2 separate regions of the Homo sapiens genome follow, and region 1 is linked to region 2. Evidence: promoter capture Hi-C in 16 types of primary human blood cells and fetal thymus (Javierre and others, 2016). All regions are on one chromosome and are shown on one strand. Each heading gives the region's core, a stretch centred on a gene start or on the middle of the fragment in contact. The rest is flanking DNA. Distances are from core to core; before and after follow the strand shown.

What was found. Contacts are between HindIII fragments. The CHiCAGO score rates a contact against its expected background, and 5 or more counts as called.
Region 1: a contact is called between a fragment that was not itself captured here and the fragment with the promoter of RBM12B-DT in region 2, in 2 of 17 cell types (naive CD4 T cells and total CD4 T cells). The highest score is 6.4, in naive CD4 T cells.

Annotation. Positions count from the first base shown.
Region 1 is chr8:94,830,198-94,833,829 of GRCh38, forward strand. INTS8 (integrator complex subunit 8) reads left to right here. Exons shown (of 27, transcript NM_017864.4): 6 at 1,795-1,977. Among named protein-coding and RNA genes, the nearest start is that of INTS8, 8.7 kb to the left of the region's middle. The HindIII fragment of the contact is 5,843 bases long and covers 1-3,632 here.
Region 2 is chr8:93,739,414-93,743,531 of GRCh38, forward strand. It overlaps RBM12B-DT (RBM12B divergent transcript), which reads left to right and starts at 1,670. Exons shown (of 2, transcript NR_183450.1): 1 at 1,670-2,046. It overlaps RBM12B (RNA binding motif protein 12B), which reads right to left and starts at 1,596. Exons shown (of 4, transcript NM_001377960.1): 1 at 1,468-1,596; 2 at 1,216-1,283. RBM12B-AS1 (RBM12B antisense RNA 1) reads left to right here and starts at 698. Exons shown (of 1, transcript NR_027259.1): 1 at 698-1,406. RefSeq lists an enhancer at 1,503-1,622. The HindIII fragment of the contact is 3,775 bases long and covers 1,651-4,118 here.

The DNA of each region.
Region 1 (3,632 bases), core at 992-3,491, 1.1 Mb after region 2:
GCAGTTATTTTTTAATTGATCTACATAATGGAAAATTAGAAACCTGACAGTTTCTATAATTTAGAAATGATTTCTGTAATTAACACCTACAATGTTCCATATTACCATGTGAGGTGTAGGGGCTGGGTGAGGAGAGAAAAAGGTAAGAAACGATCTGTATCTCACTATAGCAAATATGCTGTAATATTTTGAATGTGGAAGCCAAAGCCTACATCATTTCATTGTTGTTATCTAGTTCCTAATAAAATGACTGGCACATTGAAGTATACAGATATTTCTTGAATAAATCAAGTGGAACAGTGCAAATTTTTTCTTTTTTAGACAGGGTCTGACTCTGTTGCCCAGGCTACAGTGCAGTGGCCTGATCTTGGCTCATTGCAGCCTCCACCTCCCAGCCTCAAGCGATCCTCCCACCTCAGTGTTGCCAGTAGCTGGGACTACAGACATGTGCCACCACACTAGACTAATTTTTGTATTTTTTGTAGAGATGGGATTTTGCCATGTTGTTCAGTCTGGTCTCGAACTTCTGGACTCAAGCGATCCACCCACTTCGGACCCCCAAAGTGCTGGTATTACATATATGAGTCACTGTGTCCAGCTAAATCTTTTTTGTTTTTTGAGATGGAGTCTTGCTCTGTTGCCCAGGCTGGAGTGCAATGGTGCGATCTCAGCTCACTGCAACCTCTGCCTCCCGGGTTCAAGCGATTCTTCTGCCTCAGTCTCCCAGGTAGCTGGGATTATAGGCGTGCTCCACCATGCCTGGCTAATTTTTGTATTTTTAGTAGAGATGGGGTTTCACCATGTTGGTCAGGCTGGTCTTGAACTCCTGACCTCGTGATCTGCCCATCTTGGGCTCCTAAAGTGCTGGGATTACAGGTGTGAGCCACCGTGCCTGGCCACCAGCTAAATCTTTAAAGCATTAACTTTTCTTTTTTAGACAGAATATTACTCTGTCACCCAGGCTGGAGTGCAGTGGCATGATCTCAGCTCACTGCAACCTCTGTCTCCTAGGTTCAAGCAATTCTTGTGCCTCAGCCTCCCTAGTAGCTGGGATTACAAGTGTATGCTACCATGGCCAGCTAATTTTTGTAGTTTTAGTAGAAACAGGATTTCTCCATGCTGGCCAGGCAGGTCTCGAACCCCTGGCCACAGATGATCCTCCTGCCTCGCTTGGCCTCCCAAAGTGTTGGGATTACGGGTGTGAGCCACTGCCCCTGGCCTAAAGTATCAACTTTTCTACAGAAAAAAGATACCAGTCTTTCCTGTTTTTTGTATTGTCTTTTTCTTTTTTTTTTTTTTTTTGAGATGGAGTTTCGCTCTGTCACCCAGGCCGGAGTGCAGTGGCACGATCTTGGCTCACTGCGACCTCCACCTCCCAGGTTCAAGCAATTCTCCTGCCTCAGCTTCCTGAGTAGCTGGGATTACAGGCGTCTGCCCCCATGCCCGGCTAATTTTTGTATTTTTAGTAGAGATGAGGTTTCACCCTATTGGTCAGGCTGGTCTCGAACTCCTGATCTCGTGATCTGCCCGCCTCGGCCTCCCAAAGTGCTGGGATTATAGGCGTGAGCCACCATGCCTGGCCCTCCTGTTTTTCATATTTTCTAACCTCACAATAGGAACTTATTTCCCTTCATTTAAGGTAACTTTATTTCAACAAATGTAATTGTACTCTTGCTGTGTTAAAAATTTTTTTAATAGCTTAGTGTACTGAGTTACTAAATAGACTGTAAATATTTTTGGTTATTATAATCAGTTGCTATTTTTGTATTTTTATTTGTTTATTGATTTCTGTAGCTCAAAGAACAAGCTGCTGATTCTATTTTGGTACTAGAAGCAGCCCTAAAATTAAACAAGGATCTTTATGTCCATACGATGAGAACTCTAGATTTATTGGCCATGGAACCAGGCATGGTAAATGGAGAAACTGAGAGTTCTACTGCTGGATTGAAAGTCAAAACCGAAGAAATGCAGTGCCAGGTATTCATTTGATACTTAATTTACGTAGGGCAATTTTTTGGAAAATCTTAATATGAGATCATCCTCCTATTTTTAATTAGAATTTATTTCTGCCTTTGTCTCTTAAGATGCTATTAAAACTGCATTGTATTTAATTTATACATTTATAAGATTTGACATTTTTCTAAAAGAAATGGAAGAGAAATTTTATGTCATCTGTTGTCTCTGAAATAGTTTCCGGATTGTATTTAGGAGACAGAGTTTAAGTACTGAGAATACAGTTATATGTAATTGATTTACAGTTCTTTCATATTATCAGAAATCTGATCAGACCAAAAGAAGATAAAAACTAATATTATGCTAGACTTTGAAAAATCTAGACCTCAAGAGAGAGTGTCTAGCTTTTCAGGGATCTTAAGTTTGCCCTCTTTCTATAACTCTGGGCCCCTTGTTCCTTTCACAGTTTTCAGTTGATGCTTATTGTCAGGTATTATTTGTTTTTGTTTTTGTTTTTTTTTTGAGACGGAGTCTTGCTCTGTCACCCAGGCTGGAGTGCAGTGGCATGATCTCAGCTCACTGCAAACTCCGCCTCCCGGGTTCATGCCATTCTCCTGCCTGAGCCTCCCGAGTAGCTGGGACTACAGGCGCCTGCCACCACACCCGGCTAATTTTTTGTGTTTTTAGTAGAGACGGGGTTTCACCGTGTTGGCCAGCGTGGTCTAGATCTCCTGACCTCGTGATCCGCCCGCCTCGGTCTCCCAAAGTGCTGGGATTACAGGCGTGAGCCACCGCGCCCGGCCGTTGTCAGATATTACTTTGTGTGTTTATGTCTTCTTTTTCCCTACTGGATTATAACTCTTTGACATCTCTCTCTCTCTCTTTTTTTTTTAATATGTTCTGCGTCTTACTTTCCAGAGTAGGACCTTGAGTAAAATAGAAATTTTAAAGTATTCAGTGATTGTCTAGAGAGGGCTACTAAGATTGTACCTTCTAAACTGTATTGTCTTTCCTTATTCGTATGAGTTGGCATGGCTTCTTTTATCACTAATTCCTTTTCTGGAAAGGGGTAAAAATAGTTATGACAGTTTTGGGAAGGTGCGTTTTCAGATTAGCTGTTTCCAGAGCTGAAGGTAATCATTTATTCAAGGCCTGATGAGCTGGAGTTTGCAGCAGGAGTAGGAGTTAATGAAGTATTGATACTTGGTAACCCTTTTTGTAAAAAAAAAAAATTTTAATTTTTTTTTTATAGAGACAGGGTCTCCCTATGTTGCCCAGGCTGGTCTCGGAACTCCTGGGCTCAAGGGATCCTCCCACCTTGGCCTCCCAAAGTGCTGGGATTACAGGATACTTGGTAACATTTTAAAATCACTGATGAAACTTGCATATAGGAGTGTTACTGGTATGTAGTATCTCATAATCTTTCAGAACCCGTTTAAAAGTTGTTGATGACACTTCTGATTTTTGCAACATGGTGGATGATACAACCTGAAAACAAAACTCCTGTAAAACATCTGTATGTGCTAGGCAAACTATCAAATGTTCTTTTACTTACATAGCTGAGTGACAATTCCTGTTTTTTGAAGGGCAAATTAGTGGTAACACTCATTTCCTGGCATGACAATGTTTTTCTTTTTTGAGACGGAGTTTCACTCTTGTTGCCCAGACTAGAGTGCAAT
Region 2 (4,118 bases), core at 420-2,919:
TTATTCTCATTTGCCACAGTTAAACAAAACTAATGCTTAAACTTCTCTACCCTTGAGACAGTAGGGTAATGTACCATTTATGCCTCTACAATAACACACCTTGGAGACCAACTGTAAGAGACCAGCTCTCAAAATGGGCACTTCTGTGGTTCCAACATGCTATATTTCCTTAAGCAAATTCTCCAGAAATTCAACTCTTAACACACTAAATTACACAAAAGCAAAACACGAAAATTACCCTCAAGTAGTCTGCAATTAAAATTTTGCGTTTTTCTAGTTATGAATGCAAAAAGTATTTTTGTGCCTTTGTGTTCATTTGAAGACAATAATCTGTTAAAATTTCTATGAAAAGAAGAGTGGGTCCCTAAAAGATCACTTAAGTCAGTGAAATTTAAAGCGCATTTTAAATAACTGCTATTTTTATCCAACGATTCATCCCACTTAATCACCATTATAACTAAACAATACGTAACGTGCCTCTTCTAATCAAGACTTAAGGGGATACAGAGAGGGAAACGGGAGGGAGACAGAATTTAAATAAGTAATATCTCATCAGATCCATTTGATTTTTAACTAGCGAAGAAAAAGTCATTTTCCAGATATGGTGAGGGAGAGAATTTTTTTTAACTCTGCGACTACTTCGTAAAGCCCAAGGTCATGATGTAGCATATTCACACTCTAAACGTGAGTTTCCCCTGCAGAAAATAATCTACACCAACCCATAATTATTCTTTACGATGATCCACCTTTTATAATGTAGATGTTTAAAATAAAAACCAAAGGAATGACCAATGAGAGCCACAGTCCCTAGGAAGAACTGTAAATGAAGACGAATCCACATGGCACAGGATTTCTCCCAACATCCTCAAACGGGAATCATCCGAAGGCATCGATTCTACAGCCCAAAGCCTTTGTCCACAACTCCCAGGGGTCAGAGCTTCCTTCTTTCGCGCCAGGCCAAAGTTGCTACGTGGGATCCGATGTTGTCGCCAGACTTTCAGCCAAAATCAGCCTTCAAATTAACCTGGACCGCCCAACCTCCGTGCCTTTCCGTTACGCCGTCTCAAGGGCAAACATTCCACCCTAACTCGCCAGAGGGTGAACTGCCCCCAGATCTAACTGAAAACACTTGCCCTTCTCAAGCCTAACGAGCTGGGCCTGCAGCGCTTTTCTGCCACCACTGACTACGATGACATAGCAAAGAAAAAAATATACCTATGAAATCCTTCGAGATCTTCACTCTCAAGATCCCTGGGAAGCGCACATACACCACCACATGGAAGCTGACGGGAAAGGAAGAGTCGGTGTTTTAGCAAGAAAAGAGGGTGCCCTAACGGCAGGAGCTACGCTAGATACTGGCGCGGCCGCCGGTCCCGCCTTTCCCCGTTCTTCCGGCTTGGTCGCCCAGCCCTCCCCACCCCCGGCGCCCCGAGGGGAACTGCTTCGCACTTGGCAATAAACACACACCACTGCTGCCGAGTCGGACACACAAGGCCGGAGGCTGAGGGAACTCTTCGTCGCAGCAGCCTCCCCAAAACAGGTAGACCCTCAGTGAGCCCAGAAGAAGATGGCGCCCACTGCCCCTCCGGTCCGGACAAACGGACGTACGGTTTATCTGCCCATGCGCTCTGCAGGCGCAACCCACCACCAAGCTTGCGCACGCGCGCTGCCGCTCACCCGTTTCCCCTCGCTAGAGGAGGGGAGGCGGAGCCCCGGGGTTGGCTGAGCTTCTGCGCATGCCCAGATTCTGCCCAGCCCAGGGACCTCGACTTTCAACGGGAGAAATTCAGAGACACATTCAGGGCTCAGCCGGTAGATGTGCTGAGAATCTTCGGTAGACAACTGTCGAAGTACGGCGGACAAACTTTAAAGATTTCCAGAAGTTAAGGAAAGAGATGCAAAAGCAGAGAAAAGGCGACTTGTCTTTTCAGTGTTGCATTACTGTGTGGCGTAAAACATCTTCTAAAAAGCTCCTGTGGCCGGGCACGGTGGCTCACGTCTGTAATCCCAGCACTTTGGGAGGCCGAAGCGGGCGAATCACTTGAGGTCAGTAGTTCGAGACCAGCCCGCCCAAAAAGCGAAACCCCCGTCTCTACTAAAAATACAAAAAAGTCAGCCTGGCATGGTGGCGGGCGCCTGTAATCCCAGCTACTCGGGAGGCTGAGGCAGGAGAATCGCTTGAACCCGAGAGATGGAGGCTGTAGTGAGCCGAGATCGCACCGCTGCACTCCAGCCAGGTCAAAAGAGTGAAACTCCATCTCAAAACAAAAATAAAAAAGCTCCTGTAGACCCTAGAATACCACAGAAAAGGTAATTTTACTGCCTTAGATGTTCGCCAAGTACAATCCCAACACCTGGGGGCTTAATAAATGCATGCTTAGTCGGTTTTATAGATATAAATAACCTTGTGAAGTGTCTTTATAAATTTGTTCCCATCTTCTGGATTTTTGAAACAAGAGAACAGATGAGCCAGTACTGAAATTTCAGTAATGGAAAAGCACTATTACAGGTGTACTCTGTGATGCCTGCTACGTAATAGCTGGTGAACAACCTTGTGTTTGGTTTTATCATTTGCAAATAACAAAGTTTCCCACCACGTTGTATAGCTACTTGATGTATTTGTGGATGGATTCAAAGCTCATTAAGCAGAAAGTACATTTTAAAAACATTGTTACAGATGACAGAAAAAGTGAGTTGTGGATCCCTTTCTCACTGCAAAATACCCATTCTTTAATGATATGATTATAAGAAAGAAGAGGTAGTTTAATAAGTAAATAAAAAGATAGTTAACACAAAATCAGAGCCATCTTTTACTCACTGGACAAATTATTTAGCCCCTCTGTGCCTCAGTTTCTTCATCTGTAAAATGGGGATACTCCTAGTACCTACCTCTTAGGGTTGTGGGAAACATTCAGTAAATATGTATGTCTCAGATATATGTAAATAAGTGAGACTATTATAAGTATTTGTGACTTGTTTGAAATGTCAAGGTGATCTATACAGAAGCAGAGGATGTCACTCTGAGGAGGTAGGCTCATTGACTAGATATCATTTACCTTGATAATCCATAGTTTGGTCCTGGCCTTGCAGTCTCAGGAACAGGACCTTAAAAGTTAACGTTTATTGGCCGGGCATGGTGACTCACGCATGTAATCCTAGCATTTTGGGAGGCCGAGGTGATCGAATCACCTGAGTGCAGGAGTTCGAGACCAGCCTGGCCAACATGGTGAAACCCTGTCTCTACTAAAATTACAAAAATTAGCTGGGTGTGGTGGCGGGCACCTATAATCCCAGCTACTCAGGAGGCGGAGGCAGAGGAATCACTTGAACCTGGGAGGAGGAGGTTGCAGTGAGCCGAGACCGTGCCACAGCACGCCAGCCTGGGCGACAAGAGCAAAGCTCCGTCTCAAAAAAAAAAAAAAAAAAGTTAACATTTATTGAGAATTTATTATGTGCCAGGACGTATACATTATCTCAATTTATTCTTACAACTACTTTTGGAGGTAGGTACTATTATTATTCGTATTTTACAGATAAGGGAAACTGAGGCATAGAGGATTACAAAAGCCAGGCAAAATTGAACGTTGCTTGTTTGCCTGCAGAAGCCATTACTCTGTATTGCACAGAAAGAGGACTCTGTCCTCGGAAGCGGACTCCTTTAAACAAGAATACAGAAGCAATGCTCTAAGAAATAGAACATGAGTTACCTAATCTCAAAAGGTGATTCTCAGTTAAGGCTCCCTGGAGACATCCTCACTCATCTTAACAAAAGTAACAGTCATCATTTAATGACCACTTACTGGAGGACTCACCTGGCCAAGTGTGCTCAGGTCAGACTCTGTCCCCTGAGCAAGCTCTGACAGGCGTTTCCAGCCTCCCATGGCCTCCTTCATTGTTCTGGGCTGACCATCCTCCTTCTATTCACACAGTCTTTCTCCAGCGAGGACACTATATTGAATGTCTCTCCATTTTGGGTTTTTTTGAGACAGAGTCTCACTCTGTCACCCAGGCTGGAGTACAATGGTTACAATCCTGGCTCACTGCAACCTCTGCCTCCTGGGTTCCAAGGATTCTCATGCCTCAGCCTCCTGAGTAGATGGGATTACAGGCATATGCCA